4 separate regions of the Homo sapiens genome follow, and all the other regions are linked to region 1. The links are contacts of gene promoters, found by promoter capture Hi-C in blood cells and fetal thymus (Javierre and others, 2016). All regions are on one chromosome and are shown on one strand. The core of a region is centred on a gene start or on the middle of the fragment in contact, and the rest is flanking DNA. Distances in the headings are between cores, read along the strand shown.

The links. The method cuts DNA at HindIII sites, captures the fragments that hold promoters and counts their contacts. A CHiCAGO score of 5 or more calls a contact.
Region 2: a contact is called between the fragment with the promoter of TMBIM1 here and the fragment with the promoter of GLB1L in region 1, in 1 of 17 cell types (naive CD8 T cells). The highest score is 5.5, in naive CD8 T cells.
Region 3: a contact is called between the fragment with the promoter of ZNF142 here and the fragment with the promoter of GLB1L in region 1, in 1 of 17 cell types (non-activated CD4 T cells). The highest score is 5.3, in non-activated CD4 T cells.
Region 4: a fragment that was not itself captured here is called in contact with the fragment with the promoter of GLB1L in region 1 in 2 of 17 cell types (total B cells and total CD8 T cells); the score reaches 6.2 in total B cells.

What each region holds. Positions count from the first base shown.
Region 1 is chr2:219,243,555-219,246,935 of GRCh38, reverse strand. GLB1L (galactosidase beta 1 like) reads left to right here and starts at 1,492. Exons shown (of 17, transcript NM_001286423.2): 1 at 1,492-1,707; 2 at 3,293-3,381. The coding sequence starts at 3,363. It overlaps STK16 (serine/threonine kinase 16), which reads right to left and starts at 1,457. Exons shown (of 8, transcript NM_001330213.2): 1 at 1,140-1,457; 2 at 851-1,040; 3 at 60-279. The coding sequence starts at 936. RefSeq lists enhancers at 1,316-1,745, 1,194-1,776. The HindIII fragment of the contact is 6,920 bases long and covers 1-3,381 here.
Region 2 is chr2:218,290,860-218,294,240 of GRCh38, reverse strand. It overlaps TMBIM1 (transmembrane BAX inhibitor motif containing 1), which reads left to right and starts at 1,738. Exons shown (of 12, transcript NM_022152.6): 1 at 1,738-1,775. All of the region lies in intron 2 of PNKD (PNKD metallo-beta-lactamase domain containing), which reads right to left. RefSeq lists enhancers at 214-1,060, 1,243-2,205, 2,206-3,170 and a silencer at 1,481-1,960. The HindIII fragment of the contact is 24,107 bases long and covers 1-3,381 here.
Region 3 is chr2:218,657,492-218,660,872 of GRCh38, reverse strand. It overlaps ZNF142 (zinc finger protein 142), which reads left to right and starts at 1,250. Exons shown (of 11, transcript NM_001379659.1): 1 at 1,250-1,504; 2 at 1,743-1,893; 3 at 1,997-2,172. BCS1L (BCS1 ubiquinol-cytochrome c reductase complex chaperone) reads right to left here and starts at 1,190. Exons shown (of 8, transcript NM_001079866.2): 1 at 1,130-1,190. RefSeq lists enhancers at 1,067-1,196, 2,007-2,126. The HindIII fragment of the contact is 10,571 bases long and covers 1-2,141 here.
Region 4 is chr2:218,701,046-218,704,426 of GRCh38, reverse strand. STK36 (serine/threonine kinase 36) reads right to left here. Exons shown (of 27, transcript NM_015690.5): 27 at 1,712-2,561. The coding sequence ends at 2,418. Among named protein-coding and RNA genes, the nearest start is that of TTLL4, 8.1 kb to the left of the region's middle. The HindIII fragment of the contact is 889 bases long and covers 1,373-2,261 here.

The DNA of each region.
Region 1 (3,381 bases), core at 243-2,742:
ACAGCCCTTGAGTAGGTGGCTCTGCTGCAACCCCCTCCATAACCAGGAGTCTTTCTGACCTTGAAGAATGGTAGCAGCAGCCAGGCCTCATGCTTAGCACCCCGTTCCCTCAGACAGTAAGCCACGAGGCGAAGGATGTTGGGGTGATTGAAGAGGCGATGCATGTCGGCTTCTCGCTGGGCCTCCTCCCGGTCCTGCTGCTCGTGACACAGGATTCGCTTCAGGGCGTAGAAGTGTCCATCATGTAACCCTTCCACTAGGTCCACATAGCTGAACCCACTGTGGGCCAAAGGGGTCAATAAAGGGCCATGGTCATCTCCCACATGGCTTGGACCTAGAGAAATTTCCTGGTGGGGAGTGGGGTGTCCTTCCCATTTAGCAGAAACCTTCCCAAGATGTGGCTCTAAGAGAAATCTGAAGAATATTACACCGTGAGCTCCTCAGGAGCAGAGATATAGAAATCTTTGAGGTCCTATGGTCGTAATAGAGACCTCTGCACTTGACAGATGCTAAATAAATAATAGCCAACACTTATCAAGTACTTGTCAACCCCGCATTGGGTGAGACATTTTATACACATTATCTCATTTAATCCTCACAACTCCATCAGTGAGGGATAATAATCATCTCCATTAAGCTGATGAAAAAAACATGGTTTATCAAGGTCACACGAGGTGGATTTAGCAGGCCTGGCTCCAGAATCCACCTTCTTGATACTGTGTAGCTAGGTTCTGTCAGGTGAGAGAGGACAGGGATAGGGATAAAACCCTTGTGCCCCAAGCATATGCACACCGCTGTCCTTCAATGATCATAAACTTGAGGACTAGTTAACTGACTTCCAAACACTCACCCCTCCCCCAGTTTCTGGATGAAGAGGTAGCGCTTATTGTCAATGATGACAGTTCCCCGAGAGCAGACACACAGCGCGTGGCCCATAATGTCTCAGTCATCCTCTTCAAGGACGGTCTGAGGCTACCGAAGAGCTCGTCCAGGGTGAGTGGGCTCTTCCAGGAGATGCGCTGGGGGCCCAGCGGATCATGCTGGAAAGAAAACAACGGCAGGGTCACAGGTCCGGCACAATCCAGACGACCCATGAAGTACCAATGCGGAGAGCTCAGGCCCAGGTCTCTGGAACCTACACTATAGTGTAGAGAAAACAGGCCCTGCTCCGTCGCCAGCTTCAGGGGTGGGGTCAGGCGCCTTACGGCCTCAGGACACACAGCGGCTACCGGGCCACTTCCTCCAACCCCAGCCCATCTTTGGGCAGCCCCCGCTCCCACGCCCATCGCGCCGCAAAAGCAGAGCATAGCGTAGTTTCAGAGGACGTGCGAGGCTCAGGCCCACTCCTGGCAGGGCCCACCCCGGTCTAGGAGCCCAGAGCCCGGGATGGGCCATCTGCACTGCCGGACTGACCTGGCTCGGGCCAGAGAGAAGCGCCACCGACCGGAAGCAGTGCTGACATCATCAGTCCGCGCCGGCGTAACGGCCCGCGGTATCTCAGCAACCGCTGGGCATCCGGAGGATGTGGGGACGCGGAGCTGAGAGGCTCCGGGCTAGCTAGGTGTAGGGGTGGACGGGTCCCAGGACCCTGGTGAGGGTTCTCTACTTGGCCTTCGGTGGGGGTCAAGACGCAGGCACCTACGCCAAAGGGGAGCAAAGCCGGGCTCGGCCCGAGGCCCCCAGGACCTCCATCTCCCAATGTTGGAGGTAGGAGGCTTCATACCTCTGGCGCTCTGGGGCAGAAAGCGGCCAACTACACTGCAGCCTGGAGGGGGATCCAGTGAGGGGCGGGTCTGGTGGCCTGGTCTCCTGATCCCGTACAACCTTCTGGGCTCTGGCCTGTATCCCACTACCCCTAGTCTCAGTGGTTAAGAGCTCAGGCTTGTGAACCAGACTTCCAGTTTCTAAATTGAGTGTTAATAGCATGCTAGCTGTGTAACCTCGGGCAAGTTACTTAACCTCTCGGATCCTTACTTTTGGTAGCTGTAAAATAGGTATAATAGTACATAAGGTTAAGTAGCTTAACTGTGAGGCCAGACTGACTAGTTCAAATGACAGCTCCGTTAACGTAGTTGTGTGACCTTGGACAGGCTACTTAATGTTTCTGTCCTTTCCTCTCCTCCTCTGTAAAATGGAAATAATTATCTACCTCATGGAGTTGAAGATTAAATGAGATGTACAGTGTTTAATACAATATCTGACACATAGCCTTCAGTACGTGTCAATAAACCGTAATTATTATTACCCTGATCTTCACATCCCATTCTTGAGACTGTAAAGGCAAAAGGAACGGAAATTCACAGATTTTCGAGCTTTGGCACAAAGCAGTTGTCCTTAATATCTGTTGCGGAGGCAGGCAGGGGTAAGCTGGAGAGGGGTGCACTTCCAAAGAAGGTGGAATGGCCAGGAGGGAATGGCTGTTTTGCTGAAACAGGACTCTCCAGGAAAGAGGTCCTTCTTGTGACCTGGTTCCTCCCTTCCACACCCCGGATCACCCTGAAGATTTTCCAATGGTTTCCCCTGGTTCTGAACCTGTTTTAGCCTTTTGGTTATGACATTGATTCATCCAGATTTAACCTACTATATACCCGGCCCTGTGCTAGAGGCTGAGGATTTGAGATGAACAGGGCACTCCCTGTCCTCAGGGAGCCCAGTCAAGTAAAGCCATGCTTCTCAATTTTGAAGGTGCCTAGGATCACCTGGGAATCTTGTTAAAATACAAATTCTGATTCTATAGGTCTGAGGTAGGATCTGAGATTTTACATTTCTTTTGTTTGTTTGTTTGTGTTTTTTGAGACAGAGTCTCGCTCTGTTGCCCAGGCTGGAGTGCAGTGGCAGGATCTCGGTTCACTGCAACCTCCGCCTTCCGGGTTCAAGCAATTCTCCTGCCTCAGCCCCTACCCCCACCCCCACCCCCACCCCCACCCCCACCCTCGGAGTAGCTTGGAATACAGGCGCGTGCCACCAGGCCCGGCTAATTTTTGTATTTTTAGTAGAGACAGGGTTTTGCCCTGTTGGCCAAGCTGGTCTTGAACTCCTGACCTCAAGTGATCCACCCGCCTCGGCCTCCCAAAGTGTTGGGATTACAGGCGTGAGCCATCGTGCCCAGCCAGATTCTCCATTTCTAACAAGTTCCCAGGTGATGTCGATGAAGCTGGTTCGTGAACTGCACTTTAACATGATGTAGAAATTTTACAAACTAGTAGAGTAAGGGGGTGGCTGCAGGCTGGAGAGGAAGTCCAGGCTAAACGCCTGGCAACTTGAGGTGGTTTCCGCCCCCTTGCTCGCTGAGGTTCCCTCCCAGGAATCCGACACGTGACGGTCTGTCCGCCGTCTCAGACTAGAGGAGCGCTGTAAACGCCATGGCTCCCAAGAAGCTGT
Region 2 (3,381 bases), core at 489-2,988, 950 kb after region 1:
ACAGATTCCATGGGCCATGCATTTCACCTAGGGCGCTACTCCTTGAGCAAGGGGGAGACAGACACTGAGCAGAACTGTACTTGCTCTGGTGAGATCACACCTTGGGTGGGGACTTCCTAAAATGAGGTTCTTGGCCTGTAGGAACTGGAAGTACACTGAAGGGTTGGGGTGTCTGGGGAGCTAGCCCACCATAACGGCCACTAGTCCCCCTAAGTAACTCCTACTTAAACTATATTTACAGAAATAAACATACATAGTGTGTGTATGGGGGGCAGTTTTTAAAAATCTGTCTTTTTTTTTTTTTTTTTTTTTTAAATCTCTGTTTTGGGGCTGGACGTGGTGGCTCATGTCTGTAATCCTAGCACTTTGGGAGGCCAAAGTGGGCTGACTGCTTTGAGCTCAGGGGTTTGAGACCAGCCTATGCAACAACGTGAAAACCCATCTCTACAAAACAAACAAACCAAACAAAACAAACAAGCAAACAAACAAAATTAGCTGGGTGTAGTGGCACACACTTGTAATCCCAGCTACTCAGGAGGCTGAGGCCGGAGAATCACTTGAAACCAGGAGGAGGATGCAGTGAGCCGAGATGGCGCCACTGCACTCCAGCCTGGGTGACAGAGCGAGACCCTGTCTGGAAAAAAAAAAAAAAAAAAAAAAGGACATTCAGTGGTGGTGTGGTGCTGACCTATAGCTATTAACATGAGATAAGCACTTTAAACAGAGTTGGTCAACTACTGGCAGCCTTGGTGTCATGGAAAGAACTTGGACTTTGGAACCACAGAAACTCAGGCAAGGCTCGGTAATGTTTCTCTTTTTAAATTGAGACAAGGTCTCTCTATGTTGCCTAGGCTGGGTCTCCAACTCCTGGGCTCAAGCCATCCTCTGGCCTTGGCCTCCCAAAAGTGCTAGGATCGCAGGTGTGAGTCACCATGCCCAGGCTCCAGTAATATTTCAGAACTTCCTCAAAACTGTTTCCTCCTTTGCTACTGCATTCTTCACTGAGATGAGGGTTAAGACCTACCTAACAGTAGTAATCTACATCTCAATGTAGGACTTCTGAATTCTGACTTGAGGAAAGCACCTGCTTTCCTGGTTGAGTAATTATAAACAGAGATTCTAGGTTTGCATGTTTGCAGTTTTAAACTCGAAAAGTGCATTTATCTCAAAAACACAGAATTATCAAGGATTTTAATTACTGATTTATTTGTAATGTAAAAATGGGAAACAAACGGCCTCCAGTAGGAAATTAATTTAATCCGCATAGCCATGCAATGGAATACTTCACGGCATTAAGATTGTGCTTTTGAAGACTATTTAGTGAGAAGAAAAATGTTCATCATAAAACAGTAAAAAGAAGGGCAGTAAACAAAACACCATACAATATACCCCACTGTAGAAAAACAAAATACATACAGAAATGTAATAGCCAAAGAAGGACCCAAAGCGAACGCTTCCCCCTGGGAACTAGGAGGGGTGGAGAGAAATTACTTTCTTCCCTGCATTTCTGTGTCTTTTCTAGCTTCCTATCAGTATCATGTATTGCCTTTAAATCCGAAAATACCCCTGTGTTATTAGTGAGGCGTCGTCGGGGCTCTGAGAGGCGCGCGCGCCCGGGACAGACCCCTGCGCCCCCTGGCGGCGCCCTGAGGCCCCGCCCCACGAGGCCGGCGCGACGGGGCGGGGCGCGGAGCCCCAGCCGAGCCTAGCCCTGCCCGGCCCCGGAGGACTTGCAACACTCCGAGGCCAGGAACGCTCCGTCTGGAACGGCGCAGGCAAGCCAGGGGGCCGGGGCCGGCGCCGTTGGGGACTGTGGGCGGTGGGGACTGGTCCAGGGCTGGGGCGGCCATGCGCCGGGGCGCCTAAACTTTTCGGAGCGCGCTCCCGGCTTGCCCGCTCCTGGGCCCAAGGAGCCCGTTCCAGATGGGGATCTCCCCTCCTGGCCCTTGGCGTTTCGCTCTCCCTGGGCGCGCGGGTGGGCGGCCGGGTCTGTGGCACCTGGTTAGCCTTGGGAGCCCAGCAGCGTGTTGTGGGCACTGGTGAGCGGAGCCAGGGTCTGGGGGTGTCCTCGTGTTCCCTCTTTCGGGCACGAGTGGCCTCTCTGTCGCAGGGCCTATCCACCATGCCAGCCCGAGTGGCCAGCTGTGTGGGATGAGGGCTTTCATGGCCCTCAGCTGGTGAGAAGAGGGAAGAGGGAGGGGAGACAGCCAGGGCCTGGCACGGACCCCAGGTTGCCCCCACACGCGCTGAGGCCAGTCTCGGTGTAGACAGGTGAATATTTAAGGGGTGGGGAAGGGGGGGTCCTAGCTTGCAGCTGGGGCAGAAGCCAATGAGCAGCTCAAGTGTTTGGCATGGGGAAGTGGCCACCTCTATCACCATGACTTTGCCCTCTGCCAGTCCCACTTCCAGCCACTGTTTCCCGGCTGGGTTCACAGAACTACAGGGGAGTAACATCCTCCTCGTGACTTCTTTGGGTTAGAGTGAAAACAAAACAGAGAAACGGGAAAAGGGAAAGCAAGTGGAGAGACTGGGGCAGGAGCCAGGGACCAGTGGGAGGAAGCAGAGGGAGGCTGCTGGGAGGCCAGGCCCTGGCCTTGTGGGGTCGGCACCAATTCTTGTCCTATGGGGTCTCCATCTCCTCTCCCTCCTCTGTGGCCTCTACGTGGTACCCAGGAGTTTGGGGTTCTACCTGAGCACCCTGGACATGGGATAAGTAGGCCTGGGAACGCAGGTCAGAGCCAGATGTCATGGAAGGGCCCTCAGGTGTCCAGTTCTCTGGGCTCTGAAATATTCATCTCATTAGTGAGCTTTGGTTTCCAAGCTGGCGACTTTGGGCTGGCCAGTGGTGGCAGGGGAGCCAGGTGCCTCCTGGGGCTGCTTTATTGGCGCAAAGGGGGAGCCATACTTCCTTCTCACCTGCCTCCTCTCTCTGTCTCTCCAGTCATGAGGATCCAGAGAACCAGTTTATAGCTTAAATGGAAGAGGCAGGACCACAGTGTCAGGGGCCCTGTCTTTCTGTGCTATGACCTCAAGGCCTCACTTGTAAAAATGAGCCCTTCAGAGAGGTAATGATGGGTTATCCTGTAAGTGTTGGGAGAGCCTCATGTCATGAGCTGGGGTAATAGCCACCTGGGCTCAGCCTCCTCCCCTGGGAATGGGTGCCTCAGCCAGACGCTGTCTACCTCAGAGCACCTCCAACCGCAGGCCTCACCCTGGGCCTTTCAGAAAAAGCAGAAGCCACAGAGAAGGGAAACACACATACTTGTGTGTTTTCAGAGGGCTGAACTGGGACGACCAGAGAGTGGAAGCTCATACAATTCTCTGGGAAGAAGTTCTGCTAACAACATGTCTGATCATGACATGGGCCTTCTGGACCTATTC
Region 3 (3,381 bases), core at 1-2,500, 590 kb after region 1:
CCACAGGTCAGCATTACTGTGTGGGTCAATACCCTCCTTTTGTGGGGTAAGGGTGGTATTGGAATGCAAGGGTGGAGGCTCCAGGTCCCTCATCCCATTTTGTCCTTCATTAGTCTACTCATACCTGTTTCCTACCAGAGGACCATGTCTGGAGATGCCTTAAACCAAAAAGAGCTATATAAACAGGCTTCACATCAGGGTAATGGATGGACAGGATTTTTGTGGTCCCTGGGACCAGCTATGATAAAAAGGGGTCCATTGGCTGCAGTCAGCAAGGGAGAAGCGTCCGTTGACTTGTCAGTAACCCTATGTCTTGTTATGAGTAATGTCCTTCAAATATCCTCCCCCTTACGTCCCCAATATTTAACGTCTTGTTTAGACCTTTATTACCTCCCACCTAAACTGTCTTTAAAATCGTAGTTCTTGAAATGGCATTTTAATAGGTCTTCACCTCCTGCTTCACGGAACATCTACACAAGGGTCCAGATCTTTCATCATAGGGATCAGCTCCAATACCATATCTCTCTCTGCTCCAGCACCTTCAATGGCTGGCTCCCAGCAGACCCCTGAATTGGGTATAAACTCAGCCTGGTACTCAAGGCTCTCTACAATACGGCGCCCACCTACCTTTCATGGATTAGCTCCTAACACTACCTGTTTAGCAAATATGCAAATACGCAACAAATATGTTCAACAAGTAAGCAACCTCCCAACTCCTTGCTCATGCAGTGCTCTTGGCTCGGAATGCCCGTTCTTTTCTCCCTCATTCTCCCCAAATGAAAATCTGCCCATCTGCTACTTTCTCCACGGATCGTCACATCGTAGACAATAAGATCCTGAGGGACAAGAGCAAAGTTGTTTCTAGTACACCTCTCCTCCAACCCCGAACCCCGGCCACTTTGCCCTGCGCCTGGCATGCAGGGAGGTGAGCTGACAGCAGTGACCTCGGCTGAGCCTCAGAACTGGGATCCAGAATTCCAAAACACCTATGCATGGAAGGCCACAGACAAAGCTCTCCCGTCCCCGGCCCCTCCGCGACACCCAGGAACCCCCTCCTGAACCTCGCCCACACCCCAGCTCGCGCCTCCAGCCACATGGTTTGGGGTAACCCGTCACTCAGCCCTCTCACCGCCGTGACTCTCTGGCCCTCCGTCTCGATGGTTTCACCGCGCCTGCACCTTGGGGAAGCTGCGTTCGGCCCCGCCCCGGGTCCTTTCATCTACTTCCCGCCACACCCACAGAGAAGCCCACGCCACTCTACCCCAGAGCTCTCGATGGTGCTTCTCCGGCTTCAGGGCTGGAGTGGGGGTGGAGGGCGGGAAAAACCACAGAGACAAAACATAGAGTACCCCGGCAGCCGGCAAGAGGAAGAGAGAGTGGCTTCCACATCCCCAATATCCTAGAGGCGGCTGAGCCGGAGGCGGTCGCACAAAGCGGGCCCCGGGGGCCGTTCCAGCCGCGGCCGACCATAGAGATGCGGCTCCCGCCGGCTCTGGGTCTGGAGGTGAGTGAGCGGCTGCGGGGCGGAACTGGGAAGGGAATGCGGGTGGAGCGAGCTGGAGGCAAAGTTTTTCGAGCCCCGGGATCAGGGTGGGCCTGGGCGCTGGGAACTCTCGGAAGGAGGTACTGAAGGGAGCACCCAGACGAGCTGGGCCCCGGCGCTGCAGTCGCGTCACGGTTCTGGACCCCGCCCGGGTACCTGCTGCTCTCAGGACAAAATCATGACGATGCTCCATCCCAAGCCTTCCAGGTTACAAACCGCCTTTCCAGTTCGCTGGCTCTTATGATCCAGCTCCTGCCCGACGATGTGGACACTGTCATCACCTCCATTTTACAGATAGGAAAGCTGAGGCCCAGAGAAGCGAAGCGACTGTGTCTGTCCAAGACCACGCGGTGAGTCAGAGCCAGAGGCAGGTGGGAACCTGGGTCGCTAGGCCGGGGCCCGTTGTTTCTCCAGGCCTTCTCTCTGCCTTAGTCTGTCCTTTCTCTTCCTCAGCCCTCCTGCCCGGAAGATAAGCGTATTTCTTCTCTGGTGCCCACCTGTCTCCTACCTCACCCTGCCCTCCCGCAGGTGAAGGTTCTTAATCTTGACGGCTCAGCGTCCTCCTTGGCTCCCCCCGGAGGCCATGTATGGTCAAGCTTGAAGATTCCCCAGAACAGCGATAATATTCAGTAAGTGGAGGCTGCAGTTTCCAGAGAATCCCTCTGACCACGGGAGTGCACTTTCCAGCCACCTTGTGAATCCCTGTGATCTGTTGTTTTGAGTCCATGGGATTCTGGAAATAGGGACTATCAGATTGCAGGATCTTGGTTTTTGTTTGTTTTTTTTTTGAGACGGAGTTTCGCTCTTGTTGCCCAAGCTGGGGTGCAATGGTGCGATCTCGGCTCACTGCAACCTCCGCCTCCCGGGTTCCAGCGATTCTCCTGCCTCAGCCTCCCGAGTAGCTGGGATTACAGGCGTGTGCCACCACACCCTGCTGATTTTTTGTATTTTTAGTAGAAACAGGGTTTCACAATGTTCGCCAGGCTGGTCTCGAACTTCTGACCTCAGGTGATCGGCCCGCCTTGGCCTCCCAAAGTGCTGGGATTACAGGCCTGAGCCACCGCGCCCGGCCTGGTTTCTTCTTCTTTTTTTCTTTTTGCATCTTGTCTGTGACTCAATTTCATGAAGTGATTCCCATCATTCTTATTAATTACTAATTATTCAGCTTAAACTCATTTTAGCCATGTATAACAGGGTATGCAATTCAATTGTCATTCATTCCTCAGTTATGTTCCCATATTTAGTTTGAGGCCATAGTCAGTTAATGAGTTTGAAATTTCTCCAAATGTGTTACGTTATAGGTGAGGAACCACTGGTTTTGTACAAGATACCTAGCTTTACTCCAATGCAGCTCCATATCTGTGGTTCTTCACTGGAATCTTCGATTGTGGGTGATTTGTGTTCGTTGAAGTGATAATGTCAGTATCACAAAGTAATATCATTGAAGTGATAATGTCAACAAATTACTAAAAAAGCTATACATCTAGGGAGAGAGACTGACAGGTAAACAACAGTGCAGTGTGACCTCGTTTCTGATAGGGCTGTGTACAGAGTGCCCTTAGGACGCCAGAAGAGAGAAGATAAGAGTTTCGGGAAGCCAGGCCCGGCGCGGTGCCTCACGCCTGTAATCCCAGCACTTTGGGAGGCCGAGGCAGGTGGATCACCTGAGTTCTGGAGTTCAAGACCAGCCCAACCAACATGGAGAAACCCCATCTCTACTAAAAATACAAAATAGTAGCCAGGCGTGGTGGTACATGCCTGTAATCCCAGCTACTCAGGAGGCTGAGGCAGGAGAATCGCTTGAACCCAGGAGGCAGAGGTTGTAGTGAGCTGAGATC
Region 4 (3,381 bases), core at 568-3,067, 540 kb after region 1:
GAGTCGGGCGCCTGTAGTCCGAGCTACTCGGGAGGCTGAGGTGGGAGGATTCCTTGAGCCTGAGAGGTCGAGGCTACAGTGAGCCATGATCATGCCACTGCCCTCCAGCCTGGGTGACAGAGCGAGACCCTGTCTCAAAAACAAACAAACACCAGAATAACAAAATAGATATGGTAGCTGCTCAAGTAGTGATGGAGTACACTGAACTATCCTCTACCTCTGTGTGTGTTCAAACATTTCCAACTGAAAGACAAGATGTTCACAATTGAACTCATTCCCACCCATTATCACTCCACTGCTAGCCTTCCCCATTTTAGTGAATGACAATTCCATTCTTCCAATTGCTCAGACCAAAAACCTTGGAGTCATCCCTGACTGCTTTCTTTTGGTCATACCCTCACCTCCAATCAGTCAAGAAATCCTGTTTGTTCCATGTTCAAAATATATTCAAAATTTGACTACTTTTTTATCACTCCATAGGTATCACCCCAGTCGCCATCCAGGACACCATTGTCTCTTGCCTGGATTATTATAACAATAGCCTCCTAACTGCTTATCCTACTTCGCATTCTCCCCTACTCCCCATAGCCATTCACAAGACCAGAATGAAGAATGATCCGTTTAGGATGCAAGGTAGTTCATAAAATTCTCTGTTCAAAAGCCTGCAATAGATGCCTCCTTCATTCAAAGTAAGAGCCCAAGTCTTCACCAAGGTCTACAAAGCCTACAATATCTGGCCCCCACCATTACCTTCCTGTCTCATTTCCTACTATTCTCCACCTTCTTTACTCACTTAATCCATACTGGTTCCTCATAGCTCCTCAAGCATGCCAGGCATGCTTTCATCTCAGGGCCTTGGCTTTTCCCCAAAATAGGTGCACAACTCACTCCCTCGCCTCCTTCGAGTCTTTTCTCAAGTGTCACCTTCTAGTGAGGCCTACCCTGACCATCCGACTCAGCACTCCTCATCTCCTTTCCCTGGTTTCTTTTTCTCCATAGCTTTTACCACCTTCCTACATACTATTCTTTTAATAATTTCACTATCTCCCCGACCAGAATGGAAACTCTATGATGGGCACTGTTTTATCTCCTGTACCTAGAATAGTATCTGGCATACAGAAAGGACTCAAAAAATATACATTGAACTGAATTGAGATAATCTGGATAGAAGAAAATTATGGTGCTCCCTAGAAAAATATTATTTTTGCTAAAGTATAAACACTGTGGACAATGAAGATGAGGGTTAAACAAAATTTCTTATAAAAATAAGGGCACTTTACTTGTCTTTCATTTCTAAAACAACTGGAATTTAAGGAAGGACAGAAAGGAGTCTCCTCATTTTATGGATGGAGAAATCAAGGCCCTGGAAGCTTGTTCTAAGCCATCCAATGAGTTAAGGTTTTCCAATGCTTCCAGTTAGATTATAATTCTAACAGGTCTGACTAAAAGCCCTTTCTGGTAAATTGTACAATCTTTAAAATAGCTATCCTTCTACAGCAGCTTGGAGTCCCTACACATTAGAACTCCACTAAATATTAAAATTAGTCACTAAGTCTGAGCAACCTAATTGACCGCTCTGTTGAATCTTACCCTTTCCTATTTCAGCTCCACCGGCCTTGACTTGAAAGTAGGTAACCAAATATAGTTCATCTAGGAAGGGGGAAATTGGTAAAGGCAAGAAATGATATAAATAAGCTGCCAGACCAGGATCTTGTGTGAACACGATACCAGCACCTCCAACACCACATAGAAGCTGAAAGAGGGGTTGAGCCTCTCAACCCTTGTCCTGGGAGCTTCAAGTATGGTGAGGCACAACTTTTATTAAAAGAGTTTACAAACAGAACTATTAAACACACACACACATACACACACACATATACACACACACCCCAAAAAAAGATACACTCTCCACGCCCACCCACAGATAGGAATGTTGGCTAAGGGATAATCCCTCAATAACAGGGACTGATGGCATTGATCCCCACAGCCTAGAGCTGAGACAGGCTCTGTCTTCATCACTGTCCTGGGGCCAGCACGTCTAAGGCAAAAACCTGCTGGGAAGATTAAAGGAGCTCCAGAAAGGAAGAGATCTTTCAGGTTGAGGTTTTTCCCTAAGGTCCGTGAGGCAGGTCCCTAGAGTTAAAGGCACATTATTGGAGAAAAGGCCCCTGGATGTAGAGAAGAAAGGACTCTTCTCTGGCACCAACAGCAATAAAATTTACTGGTTGAAAACATCCTGCATCTGGGAGAAGGAAGAAGCTTTATATATAAATCTCTTCTAGTTTCTTGTTCTCAGTTGAGTTGGCAGCTTATCTCTTTTCTAGTCTCTTTAGCTCTCAGTTGAGTTGGCGGCTTGTGTAGTAGAATAAGAAAGAGCTGGCAACCAAAGTTGGAGGCTGGACCGCAGGAATCTGGAATCACATGCTATGGGCTGGCCTCAGGAGGTGAATGAGTTTCCTGCAGTGTTTGGCAGAGGCAGGCCTAGGACTGCTGTGTGGCAGTGACTGATTCCCCAGAGAGAGCAAGGATAGTTTCTCACTGGCACCCAGGGACACCAGTACCTGTAGGATAGAGAACAGATGATAGAACAGAACATGAGGCTCAGAAATGGTGGTGTCTGGGGCAGGTGCGGAGGACTCTCATTTACCCAGGAATTCCCACTCGAGAAGAGGAAGAAAAAGGAAATGGGCTCTTGGGGACTTGGAATAGACTGAATGGCAGAAGAGAAACCTTGGAGATAGGAATCATCAGGACCAGAAGTCTACTTCCATTCTCTTTGGTTATAGACCATGAAACCAAGGCACTAAGGGACACATATACTTGTCCCCAGGAAGACTTGATGAATGCAGCAGTAACTCACAGTAAGCCAAAAGGTCTAATTCCTAGCCTTCAATGCAGACCAGTGAGTTCTAACCTCATTACCACCAAGAATCCCATTAATTATTTTCCCCATGGATTGCACAAGATTCCTATAGGATCTTCACCATCGGCCAGGCAAGGTGGCTCATGCCTGTAATCCCGTACTTTGGGAGGCCAAGGCGGGCGGGTCACGAGGTCAGGACATCGAGACCATCCTGGCTATCACGGTGAAACCCCGTCTCTACTAAAAAAAAAAAAAATACAAAAAATTAGCTGGGTGTGGCGGCAGGTGCCTGTAGTCCCAGCTACTCGGGAGGCTGAGGCAGAATGGCGTGAACCCGGGAGGCAGAGCTTGCAGTGAGCCAAGATCGCGCCACTGCACTCCAGCCTGGGGGCGACAAAGTGAGACTCCGTCTCAAAAAAAAAAAAAAGATCTTCACCATCCTCTCAAATTTCTGCTCTGCATGAACTTCCCAATGCTACCACTTTGAGATGTCATAATTTATATTACCATATGTAGAT